Regions from separate parts of the Homo sapiens genome. Here region 1 is linked to region 2. Evidence: promoter capture Hi-C in 16 types of primary human blood cells and fetal thymus (Javierre and others, 2016). All regions are on one chromosome and are shown on one strand. The core of a region is centred on a gene start or on the middle of the fragment in contact, and the rest is flanking DNA. Distances in the headings are between cores, read along the strand shown. Region 1 has its middle 190 kb from the start of SEMA3E. Region 2 holds the start of SEMA3D (semaphorin 3D).

Region 1 (6,768 bases), core at 91-2,590, 1.3 Mb after region 2:
GTTCAGGGGAAAGTTTTGGATTGAGGATTCTAATTTAGAAGTTAGCAGTATAGGGGTGATATTAAAACCGGATGAGGTCAACAAAACAACAAGTATACATAGAGAAGAGAAAGGGACTTTAGGTATGCCAAAACTAAGAAGGATGGCAAAAGCTGAGGAAAGCATATAGGAGAGTTATGTCCTGGAAGCCTAGAGATATGATTTGGCTGTGTCCCCACCCAAATCTCATCTTGAATTGTGGGTCACATAATTCCCATGTGTTGTGGGAGGGACTTGGTGGGAGATAATTGAATCATGGGAGTGGTTTCCCCTAATACGTTCTCGTGATAGTTAATAAGTCCCATGAGCTCTGATGGTTTTATAAGGGGTTTTCCCTTTCACTTGGCTCTCATTTTCTCTTGCTTGCCACCATGTAAGACATGCCTTTTGCCTTCCACCATGGTTGTGAGGCCTCCCCAGCCACACGGAACTGTGAGTTTATGAAATCTCTTTTTCTTTATAAATCACCCAATCTTGGGTATGTCTTTATCAGCAGTGTGAATACGGACTAATACACCCCGTAACAGGTGTGTATCAAAGGAGGAAAGGTGATCAACCATATTAAATACTTTGATAAGACAATTAAGGTGAGAACCAGAAATAAATCATTAGATTTTATCAACCTGGGGGTGAAATTGACAGAAGCAGATTCTGAGGAAGGCAGGGATGAAAGCTTGATCAGAATGCGTTTAAGAATGAATTGGAGAGGGGTATTTGAAATAGGGCTTCCAAATGACTTTTGTAATTCCAAGTGACTTTTGGAATATTTTTTGTTATAAATGGGATGGTAGCTCCTACAAGTTGGGTCAAAAGAAGATATGTTTTTAAATTGGGAAACAATAGTTTGTTTATATGATAATGGGAATGAACTGATAAAAAGAAAACATTGGTAGTGTAAAGAGGAAAGAAAATAAATCGTAGAGAGAGGTTCTTGCTTAGATGAAGGAAGAAAGGATCTATGCTCCCATGAATTGATGGATTAGTCAGGCCTGCGGAGTGTTCTTTCACAGTAATGGATAGAATCAGAGATCATGCACCAACAAATAGGTGTTGGAAGCATCTATAGAAGATGGAAAGAGTCTGTGGAAGTTCTCTCCTAAATGCTTGCTTTTCTCAGTGAGATCGGTCATTGAGAGTGACCATAGGGAAGAGATATAGGGGGTTAGGAGCAAAAGATGAAAGTGAGGGATAGACAGTCTGTGATGCATAGCATCACTGCCTCACAATACTGAGAGGACATCAAGTGAGATAAGACCACGTTCTTGTGTGATCTTTTTCCTGCTTTCATCTGCACAGATGCAGCTGTGGAATAGTAGCATTTAACCATGGTTGTGACTTTCTCAAGCTGGCATGCCAAAGAATTATATGTAAGGAAATTAATTTTATGTACAAGAAAGTATTTAAGCTGGGTAGAAAGTGGACAGACAATCTGAGGGAGTGAAGGACACTGAAAGAGAGTCAGATCTAGAACAGTAGTCCTCAATGGATCGTCATGAGGTTCTCAAAGATCCTTTCAGGAGATCCAGAAGATCCAAGTTTTCATAACACTACTAAGATATTATTTGCCTTTGTCACTCTTATTGCTGATGACTTTGCAGTGGAGTTTTACAGCTCATAGGGGGTGATATCACAATAGATTTAATGCAAAAGAAAATATGAGAATCCAGCTGCCATCTTTTAAACCAGACATTAAAGAGATTTGCAAAATGTAAAACAATGCTAATACTGTTTTCTCTAAATTTGCTTTTGCTTTGCAAAATATAACAATCTCCCAAATGTTAAATTTTATGTTAAAATGGGTTGTTCCTGTTAACATATAACTAATTTATTTTTGCTATTTTAATTAACATATAAATTATTTTTAATTTTTCACTTTAAATTTATAATACAACAAATAACCAAGATGCTACTCACATAAATAAAAGCTTTTAGGCATCCTCAGTAATTTTAGGAGTGTAGAGTTTATGAGACTAAAAAGTTTGAGAACTGATGAATTAGAGGAAATGATAAAGTCAAAACTTAGTTGAAGTCATTGTAAAAGAAAGTGAGCTTAAAGATAGGAAGTGATGATAAGAGTATAATGCATAGAATTGAGATAGGAAAGCAGTTAACATTATTGAATGCAAGGTCTACAGCAGTGCTATTCTATAAAATTTTCTGTTATAATAGAAATGCTCTGTATCTGTGCTGTGCAATATAATAGTTACTAGCCACAACTGGCTAATGAGCATTTGAAATGTGGCTAGTGCAACTGAGGAACAAAATTCCAATTTTATTTAATTTTGTGCATTTACATTAAGAATAAATAGTCACATGTGTTTACCATATTAAACACTTCAGTACCGCTATAAGTTTGTCTGAAAGAGGTTTGAGGACGAGATTACCAGAGAAGAAGTATTCAGCAAACTGAGAGGCCAGATTATTGAAAGCATCTATGAATACATTTTATACACTGGAATCATCAATAATTATTACATTAATCATCAGAACAAGTTAATATTTATTGAGCACTGTATTAATCCATTTTCACACTGTTATAAATACCCAAGTATGAGTAATTTATAAAGAAAAGAAGTTTAATTGACTCACCGTTCTGCATGGCTGGGGAGGCCTCAGGAAACTTACAATCACGGCAGAAGAGGAAGCAGGCACCTCTTACATGACTGCAAGCAGGAGAAGTGAAGTGCGAGCACAGAAAATACTGCCACTTTTAAAACCATCGGGTTGGACGCGGTGGCTCATGACTGTAATCCCAGAACTTTGCGGGGCCTAGACAGGCAGATCACCTGAGGTCAGGAGTTGGAGACCAGCCTGGTCAAAATGGTGAAACCCCGTCTCTACTAAAAATACAAAAATTAGCCGGGCGTGGTGGCAGGTGCCTGTAATCCCAGCTACTTGGGAGGCTGAGGCAGGAGAATCGCTCGAACACTGGAGGTGTGGGTTGCAGTGAGCTGAGACTGTGCTGTTGCACTCTAGCCTGGGCGACAGAGCGAGACTCCATCTAAAAAAAACAAACATCATCAGATCTTGTGAGACTCACTCACTATCATGAGAACAGCATCAGGGAAACCACCGCCATAAACCAGTCACCTCCCATTGGCTTCCTCCCTTGACACGTGGGGACTACAATTCAAGATGAGATTTTGGTAGTGACACAGAGCCAAACCATATCAAGCACCTAATATGTACCAGGCTAACACTTTCATTTGTATTTACTCTCCAGAATGACTCAAATACTATTATTGGCTCCATTTTACAGATAAGAAAACAGAGGCAAATGGCCATTAGGTAATACACTATGCAAGGTAACACATGGTTGAGGCAGATTTAAGCCCAAGTATTCTGATTTCAGAATCCACTCTTTCAGACAGTACATTATACTGCCTTTCTTATTTGAGGGTGCTAATCTTTTAAAGTTATTCTTTAAATATTGCAGGTAGCTGAAATGACACAAGGTGCACACTATGCTAATTGATGCTACAGGGATCCTATCAAAAGGGATTGTGATGCAAGTCAAGCAAAACTCCACCGATGGAAAAGATATCACTAACTTAGAGGTGTGCCCTGGAAAATGTTCAATGCATTTTTGTACCTTATCCCTAAAGGAAGTTTATTGATGACAAAAATTCAGTTTCTAAAACGGATGTCAAGCTTACCGAATTTACATTTTCAAACTGAGCTAATTAGTCCCCAGCTATTTCAGTGGTGTTAATAACTGTAAACACTGAACAAATTATTTGTGATAACATGGAAACACTGAGTAGACTTTCTTTCCAGGGTACATTTATGTATTTTCATGGCAGAGGTGAGATCGCTTTCTGAGGACATAAGACAATGCCACATCAGCTTTACAAAATTCTTATCCCTACTGATTATGGCAGCAAGGATACAAGAAAAATGTTTTGCTTATAAGCACATTTGAGTTAATAATAAAATACAATCTTTAAACATCTCTGGTAACAGAATAAGAACGGTATCACATTTAAAAGAAGACTTCAACTGCTTTTTATTAAAGATTTTGTTACCCTAAGAGAAAAGTAGACATATGAATTACTTTGAAGTTAATATTTATTTACTTAACTTCTATTCCTATTTTGTATTAAGCACTTAACATCTAAAACTAGTTGCTGAATCAGAGAAGCAGCGTTGGAAGAAGAGTACCAGCAAAAACATGGACACTCCTTATGGAATTAGGCTCTACCAATTTTAAAAATCATGTAGATAGAAATCATTACTGAAAATGATAGTACTAATATTTAAAAAGTCTTCTTTAAAGCTAGAGTCAGGGAACTGAAGCTAATGTATATGAAGTCTATGAATATATGTTGAGTTTTGTAGTGTCCTAGGCACCATCCTAGTTAATGGAGATCCGGAGGTGATCAACATAAGCATCGTCCATGCTTTCCAGTCGCAAGGAATAGTGTTAGAAAATTAAAGGTTAGAAAACTAAAGCTGAAATATTCAAGCTCCCATAAAAGCTGAAATATAATAGTGAGGGGTACTCATCAAAGTCAATAAAAATTCACAAATCTCATCATATAACTTTTAAAAATAATTAGATTAGTTTTTAGGAGACATTTGTCAAGGGTAATGTGAGTTTGCTTATATGGTAAACAGTATTTAAAGGCCTAATGTTATTCTCTGTATTTTCAGTGCCTCTATGGTGACATCAGGAGTTATTGTACCTCTTTTGTACCTTTTATTTTTCTATCTGTCAAATTATCATAATGACTCATATCAGTTAAAAATTCTTGGGGGTGTAATTAGCCATGCTTACTCTTCAAAGAGCCTTGAAAAAAAATTATTGTCATCATGAATTGATGCTTGTAAAGGTTTGGCAAACTTTGTTGATATTTATTATATTGTATTTAATATAAATATTAACATATAGAATGGGCATTATAATCCATTATTAAAATAGATTTTTTCAGCTATATTTGTTTAGAAATAAACGTTCTCACCTGTTGCTATGTAAACATCTGTAGTTACCTAAGTTGTCTGATTAGTTTATAGGAAACTCCCCTGGTTACTAAAATAAATTATGCAAACTTTTTCTTCTTTATCAGGGAAACGTATTTGTTTAATTTCTTCTATAAGATATAGCTTAATAAGCCATATTATGGCTATTGTATTCAATGGACATATATTTGGTACTGGCATGTATAGCTAGAATTAAACTGACGTGTGAAATACAAAGGAATATACTAGTGTTTCCTGTGATCCAGCAGCTAAAAATTTAATTAAAGAAGCAAAAAAATGAAATAAAAAGAAGATTGTAATATAATCATATTGTATAGTGTGGTAAATATAATGCAATAAAATTAGTGAATATCACAATGTACAAAAATAAAGTGTATTTCATTATTATCACAAGCAGAGAACTGTCTGGTTTCTTTACTGTAATTTTTAGATCTCTGAATTATGGTTTTTTTCTTTGCATTTGGTGGTGGCCCTTTTCTGAAATATAATTACTTAGTTAATTGTTGTTTTAGAGTTTCTTTATGAAAAAGATATTGTATTGCTCTAAAACTAGAATGGTTTCTTGGGATCATCCAAGTTTTGCCTTTATATTTGAAAGTTTCCTAATTTTGTGTGTATGTTCATGTGTGCTTGTGCCTTTATTGATTGAATCAGGTATTGGAGTTCATGGTAATCAAACCCTAAAGAGGCGATTTTATTATTTTTTGTTTTAAAATTCACTTCGACAATCAGCCTAAAAACTTCATGTTGTATGATTAGTGGCAGCTGACCTCCTAGTAGAAAAGCTCACGTGTGACAGTAAGATATGAAGATTACCCCTGTGATAGCTGGTTAAATAAAAGGGCCTTAGACACAATGCTTTCCAGTTCTGCTGCTATTCTTCCTTCTCCATTTAAGGATACATCTTCTAACTCCTTAGAATATTTGTGTTAGCAAATCCCAGAACCTCATCACAATACAAAAAAAAGGTCTTGACCGACACTTCCTGATGATGTAGATCCATATAGATCTTCATCTTTTTGTATTTTAATGAACATGTTACAATTTTCAAAATTGCAACATATTATAACTTAGTTTTATTTTATGACAATTGCTTCCTATTATTAAAAGGGAGTCACCAACTAGTAATCCATTTAAAATTACAAGTGGAGTCAGTTATTTCCAGGAAGAGAAAACAATAGAAAAATCTACTCTTTTGTGCATCAGCCTTCTCATATCTTTTTTGTTTTAGTGTTTATTTAGCTCTTTATTTCTTAATAGTAAAAGAAAAAAAAGTTATTTCTATATTAAAATATTTTTTCTGTAATAGTAACTCTAGTAACTGTGATGGTTAATTTTATGTGTCAACTTGACTGTAAAGAGATGCCCAGATGGCTGGTAAAACATTATTTTTGTTAGTGTTTGTGAGGGTGTTTCCAGAAGAGATTAGCATGTGAATCAATAGACTGAGTAAAGAAGATCCACTTTTAACAATATGGGTAGGCATCAACCAATCTTTCAAGGGCCCTGATAGTAGAAAAAGGGCAGAGAAAGGCAAATTCTCTTTCTTTTCTTGAGCTCCTGGTTCTCAGGCCTTCAAACTAGGACTGAATTAAGCAACCACTTTCCTGAGTTTCTACCTTGCATAAAATGTACTGTGGGACTTCTCCACCTCCATAATAATGTGAGAGCCAATTCCTACAATATATCTCCTTTTATATATCTATTTATATCCTATTGATCTGTTTCTCTGGAAAACCCCAAAAGTAA
Region 2 (7,009 bases), core at 1,298-3,797:
GATATACACATCGCTTTCAGTGAAATTAAGGCTCACTCGTTAAATCTTGAATAGTCACCCTTGAAGACAAACTAAACTGCACAATACACCTTGTATTTTAGCAAAACTTTTTGTAAAATATACTTTTTTTCCCACTGGGTTTTATTTTAAGAATTTAGATAGGGTATTAGCCCTATAGGACAGAATACCAAATTGCTTTTGATGAAAGTAGATCTCAAACTCTTAGAAAGGGTTGTTAAAACTATCTTGGTGGGACCCTATACAGTTATTAGAAATTCAGAAATAAATCCAGTGACTGAATATTAACATTATTTCTACTGTTTTTATTAACTCGTTTAACACACAAATATTTGTTAAGCACCTAACACATTCAAGACATTCAGGGAAGCAGCCTGAAGATTACGGAGCCATGGACACAGCTGAGGCCATTCATCACATTGGGCAACATATTAACAGTTGATTCCATCTGCTTTGTGCTCAGAGTCATTAAAAGGAAGGAAAGCACAGAATTCACGTTCCAGATGTTGTTTTCTCATGATATGTTCAGGATACTCTGGTAAATTCTGTCTAAATTTGAAGTCTGAGCATCTCAAACTAAATCAGTACAATACAATGTCACAGGCATTGTATTAGAGGCTGAAGAAACAAAGACACAAAACAGCCAACACTTTTGTATGGGATGCAGACACATGCATAACTAATTATAATATAAAGTGAAAAGAGCTTATTATAGTAGTGAAATCAAAGTGCTTTGGGAAAACAGGAGGGAGTGATTAATTCTGTAAGGGCTTTATGGAAAGTATTGAATGGTAGCAAAGGAAGGTGTCATTTGGTTTAAGCATATTAAGCTACAACTTAAAAGAGAAAGGAGGAAAATGGGAAATCCAAAGTTAACCACAATTCTAGTTAAACACAAAATTCTGGCCAATAAACTGACAAAATTATTTAAAAGTTTAAAAATAGAGATTTTCTAAAAATCAAAAACTACTTACTATAAACCCACCATATACGGGAGAAAAAAAGAGATATTTTATTTGCACAATGACATTGCAATTTGCATGGAAGTGCAATGACATATACAAATGAAAATAATATAAACACATAGAAACATACAATAAACAATTGCATGACTATGTACAGAATGAGTGGTATAACATTAAATATAAAGCATTCAGAAAAAAAATAAAAGTTGCTATAGTTTGAAATAGTCTACGAGGATTTAAAATTTTTTTCTCTATCCAAAGAGGGTATTTATGGGGTTGATTGGTTGTGAGTCCAAACCAAGGTTATAGAGATGGGGCAGCATGAGACACAAGAAAGAGCCTTGGTCAGATTTGAGAAACCTGAGCCTTTCCTTAGCCTGACTCTGCCATCAACCATTTATAACTTAAAATGACTCCTTTAGCTTCTGTGGCCCTCAGCCCTCTGCCACAGATAAAAGGTCAAATGAAGAATGTCTTCCACCCCTTTCAGTTATTCCATTACTGCATTTGTCTGTTCACCATCTCCAAATCAAGATATCTCTTGTTACTTGCTAAGGAAGCTTTGGGACCCTACACCTTGTGCTCTTAAATCAAGCTGACAAATGCAGGATCCCGTGGCTGCTTGCTTTCCATGTCTCTACCTCATGTCAGATTTATGTTTGGGACTAAGGGCAAGGTGTGTGACTATAAACCTGGATATCCCATCACAAAGGATTTACCATGCAGCTAAAAATGCCTAACGTACAGGGCTCACCAAATGCACAGGCCTTTTTAATGTCCCTGACGGTGGCCTCATGAACTCTCATTGTCATATATTTTTGCAGAATCTGTAGAAGTGAGATATTTCTGCATTACTTTTGCTTAAAGAGGATCCTCTATTCCAATTGCATAGGATCCAGGTTCATCAAAACTTAGATCTTCTCGTCATTATATACTTCTAAGTTCCTACTGTGTGAATAAGGGGTGCAAAAATCTAAAAAACTCCCGAAGACAAGGATATGAGGCACACCTCTTTGTAGGTCTGGCGTAAGGGAAAGAGGAAGAAAGGATTACATTCTACTCGTTTTTATCTCTCCCTGTTTGGTCTTAATCGGGTGCCAGCCCCTTAACGGAGGGTTGATCCCTGTTCCTCATCCCTATGCCTGCCTTGTCAAGGCCATTAACCGTGGATTGAGGTTTTACATAGTGGAACGCAGGTACTGTTTTGTGGGATTAGCATTTTTAGGACGGTGTTTGTGGTCACTCTCCCTGTTTCTTCCTCATGGGGTCCCTTAACAGGTTTTATGGTATAGAGAAGGAACTAAAGAAGTCCCCAAGTCACCCAGAAGGAAGATCAGACGTTAGAGGTTGCTTTACACATAGGGTGCCCTGTCCTGATAAACATCCGTCAGCGCTTGGCCAGGGCTACCTCTAAATCCACGCTGCTGGCAGCCTCCGCGCAGCAGGGATGAACTTCTGCACGCTTGGGAGTTCTGGCGTGCGCAGTGGAAGGAGGGGGCGAGGGCTGGGGGAGGAGATCGGAAGGGGAAAGGTAATCCCCGGCGTTTTCAGCATCCTCTTTTTAGAAAGACTGAGTCTCTCCCAGGACAGCTGCTGCGGTCACACCACAAACTTAAAAGCCGCCCTCCTGTTTGGAGCGTGCCTTTCCTCGCCACCCTCTCCTCCCCAAAGCTCCAGCTGGTGCCTTGCTCTCCGCCTGTCCTAGCGCGGCTCTCGGGGGAGGCAGCAGCGCCCCCTGCCTCCCGGCCTGGCCCCTGCGGCCGCAGCTTCCCGGCTCTGCCAGGGCTGCCGGCGGCTCCGCTTGCTCAGCCAGGGCTGCGGCTCAGAGGAACGCGCGCCGGTGCCCCGGGTTGCCGCGCCGCTGGACCTCAGCCTGCATCCCGTTCCCCTCTCCCTGAAAAGGCACCAGGAAAAGAGAGAGGGAGAGAAGAGTTCACAGCAGGTAAGTCTGGTTTGGGTCACCTGCTACTCCAGTGGGAGGGTGTGCTGGAGACCGCGGTGCTAAGCGGGGATAGCCGGGATTTGGGGGTGGCTGTGGGTCCGAAGTGGAGGACGAGCATGGTTTGGGAGATAAGGAACCGTCCTGAGACAGAGAAGGCTCCCGGGAGCGGACAGAGAGTGGGCGAAATCGGTGCGCAGTAATCGCGGCGCCAGCTTCAGCGCGGCCCCTGGGGCGCAGTCCCACCCCGCCTCAGCAGCTGCGGAGCCTTCTGACGAGCCTCCGCCTGGCAGCACTGCACAAAGTTTTCCTCCTGAGACGCGTCCAGGAACTTTGCTCTCTCCCTGGCTTCCTGGTTCCCCCACCACCCCTCCTGGTCTGGGCAGCAGAGAGCGTCTATGAATGTGTCCCCGGCTTCCGCAGGCTGCAGGTTCATTTGGAGACGCTTTAGTCGGGAACATCCGGGGAGTACTTGACCAAAGGGCATCTGCGCCCTCGCTCGCTCCTTTCCTTGTTGGTCTGGGAGAAGGGAAAGGGGCAAGGAAGAAGGAAGGGAAGCGTGGTGGTTTTTGTTGTAGCGTTTTGGAAGAGGAATGGGCGACGCCTTTTTCTTCGCCGGGGAATCGCGACGTTCCGTCTGATGGAAGTGTGCATCCTTTTAGATTTAGAGGGAAAGTTGGAGTCAAACAGCAGCCACAAAGCTGGCTGTCTGAAATGTGGTTAAGGCAAAACACTCGGGGGATCTCTTTGTAGTAGTGGGCTTGGCTCGCTTTGGAAAGGCCGGATTTGACTCGTGCTGGGCATTTAACCAGGAGTGCGGTCCCCAGGGTGTTTCCTCCCGGCTTCTGCCCAACGAGCCTGGAGTTAATGCGTTAATGGGCTACCCTGGTAGCGCACGGGCCGTTTTCGGCACTGTTTCTCCTTCTCTGATGACTCGAGTTCAACCTCCTGGGCTGAGTTGCTTTGCCTCCGTCACAGTGCAAGGAGGGAAGTTGACAGGAGGAGGAGACGCCGCGCTGTGGCAGGGAGCTTTGGGATCCAGGGGACTGGAAGAGAGCCGCGCGCCAGCAGCTGGGGCCGCTGGTGTCCGGGATTCCGAGTTATGGGGACAGGAGTTAAATAGCCGAACTTTCAGCGATTTCGCCTCGAGCGAAGCGGTAATAAAAGGCAAGCTTCTGTGCGTGGACTCTTATTTCATCACCAAAACCCCACCACTTTCCGTTTAGCTTAGTGCTATTTGCACAAGCAAAAGAAGAGGGGAGAAGACCTAAACTTTCCGGTTTAGCCTAAAAAGGGTTCTCCTGCATGTGTGCGCTAGCGGGGGATGGCGGGGTGGGGGCGCGCAGAGACGAGGGGGAGGATCTCCTAACAGAGAGGGAAGGGTTGAGGCGGAGGTAGAGGAGAGGTCTGAGACATCTCCTGGGTCTGGTGCTGCTGCTATTGTGTAACCATGGCAACCGCGGGGGCAGGGGTGGTCAGAGCCTTCCCAGTTCTGCACGTGGAAAGAAAAATGTGAAGGGCAGAGAAGGGAGAGAGCCACATGTCATCACTCCAGTGATGCCTTGCCTTCTCCTTTTTGTTCTCCTTTTCCTTCTCCTTTTCCTTCTCCTTTTCCTTCTTCTCTGAGGCCAGATAGCAAGGAGGATGAGCAAGAAGACACACATGTCATCACTCCAATGATGCCCTCCCTTCTCCTTTTCCTTCTCCGAGGCCAGACAGCAAGGAGGATGAGCAAGAAGATCGGGGTTGGGAGTGATCAGCCCCAGCTGGCCACTGCTTTAACCCAGTCGGGTCTTAGAGTCTCTGAGACTCGCCCCAGCGGATAAGACGGGTCAGGGGTGCCATCGCTGACAGGCGCAAAGTGATGGCCCTGGTCAGGGAGATGGGCAATGACCTTGGCTCTTGGAAGGGAAAGGCCAGGAAATACAGGAAGGTGATGTGGGACGAGATAAGAGTAGGGTCAAGGGCTGACAGACAGTAAAACAGTACTGATTCGAATTGCCAAAATTTCCAATGGAATTTGCCCAATTGTGAAATGGAAAGTTCCTAGAGAAGGGAAGAAACATTTATCAAACACCTATTGTGTTTCAGGTGCTGTGAACTTTATCACAATTAATATCCTCAACAATATGATACAAGTGTCATTATTCTCTTATTCTTTTCTTTTTGAACAGAAAAGAAAAAAAAAACAAAGACATAAAGATTTATAAATGGGTATTGTCCCATTTTGGCTTTTATGTTCTTAATGAAGAACCGTAATTCTTAAAAAAAAATTGTATTGCTGGGGGAATAAGCTAGGTAGTTATTATTTTAGAGATGATAATAAATGAGATGCAAAAATGTTGCTTGATGTGCCCAAATATAAGCTAGTAAGGGCACGAACTGAGATACGAACTGTTTTACCTGGGTGTGGGTCTCCTTTCAGAAACTTCAAGAAAGTTGTCATGACCCCACTTAATGGGAGGGCTTTCTAAGGTCAGTTATGATGCTGTATCTGTATCTGTTATCATTTACATGTGGAGAACACTCAAAATTTTAAATGCAATTCATGGTTGAGAATGAGAATGAACCACATCAAATCGATAAGCCCAGAATCGTATGTATGTGATATTAATGATCTATTCATACCTACAGGTTTCATTTTCCTTTGTAGGAATTATTAGTTTCTTTAACAATGTCCGTAAAGGAAAAAAAAAAGAAAAAGAATTTATCAAACAGAAATCCCATGGTTGTATTAAGAACATTTCCTGAGATTAGTTAGGTTTTCCTCAGTCTACTTATTGTCCTCATGACCTGAATACCTAAAAATTTACTTCGTATTTCAGTACCATTGGTTCACTTTTGTAGTTCACTCTGGTTACTTTCCTGTTGATGTTCTGAGATGGGAGGTTAAGAAAAAGTATCTGGCAATGTAAAATGTTTTGGAATTATCGGGAAACTATCATCAACACTAGCAGAAACTAACGATAAAAGATAGAAAAGTAATTGCTGTGGCTTTCTTTTGCCTTTCACCAGAATTGCCTTCATAGGTAAGTCTTTACTAATGATTTGCTTTATATTTTGCAGAGGAAAAATACACAAAGAAAAACTGAATTTGTAATCTCTCTTTTATGTGTGGGGAAGACTAGTAAGCGTGGGAATGGGAATTATTTTTGGTGGCAGGGAAGGTCAGGAATATGAACAACTAGAAAGGCAGAGGAAGCATATCTTCTACTGTTTCCGACAGGCTAACAGACCGGACTTCAGGTTTGAACTTGAGTCACCAAGCTGATTTACTCTCACATATTTTTCTTTTCCAAAACTAAAAAGGATATTGCTTGGGGTTGAAGTTAAATTAATTCAAGAAGTTTCATAGTCTCCAGTTATTCTTCATACTGTGCTCTCAATCCATTGCATGGATATTTGTTAACTATCAAAAGGGTTATCATAAACCAGAGGTGTCTCTGAAGATAACTTCGGGGGTTGGCAAGCATCTCTGTGTCTCAGTGTCTGTTTACTGTGTTAACAAAGCTACTGGGCTAACTCATTACTATTTTTATTATGCCTGTGTAATATCAAATTCTCAATCTCAAGGGGAAGACATTCTGACTGGTGCTAGTTTAATGAATATTATGTCTTCGGGTTGTTTGTTATAACTTCATTATTTTGGAAAAGCAAATGTTGACTCTGAACTTTGCTGTTCTGTCTGGGCGGTTCAATACATTGCTGACACATGTTCCTTCAGAATCATCCTTGTCAATTAATAAATAATTTTCTTCATGAACAAGAGTAGCCATAGGCTTGTTTTGAAAAGTTATTATTATTCTTCCTCTAAACATCTGGAGTGGTACAGAGTACTTAAGTAAAGTAGCATTTCAACACTCCATAACATAATCCTTGAAAGGAGAAACAAATATTCACATTTGTGGAATAAGTCATAATAACAATAATAATAATGATGATTTACTATGGGCAATAACATTGATCACATTCCTTCCCACCTCAAAATGTGGTTTTAAAGCAATTCCCTTTCTCCAGGAAACATGGCCAAAATCCTTTTTAATTTTTATACATTTGCCATACCTGTCAAGCTAATAGTCTATTTTCA

Evidence for each region. The method cuts DNA at HindIII sites, captures the fragments that hold promoters and counts their contacts. A CHiCAGO score of 5 or more calls a contact.
Region 1: a contact is called between a fragment that was not itself captured here and the fragment with the promoter of SEMA3D in region 2, in 1 of 17 cell types (activated CD4 T cells). The highest score is 5.6, in activated CD4 T cells.

The regions. Positions count from the first base shown.
Region 1 is chr7:83,839,455-83,846,222 of GRCh38, reverse strand. No RefSeq gene overlaps it. Among named protein-coding and RNA genes, the nearest start is that of SEMA3E, 190 kb to the right of the region's middle. The HindIII fragment of the contact is 1,252 bases long and covers 715-1,966 here.
Region 2 is chr7:85,182,594-85,189,602 of GRCh38, reverse strand. SEMA3D (semaphorin 3D) reads left to right here and starts at 2,547. Exons shown (of 19, transcript NM_001384900.1): 1 at 2,547-2,925. RefSeq lists a silencer at 2,676-2,735. The HindIII fragment of the contact is 2,551 bases long and covers 1,546-4,096 here.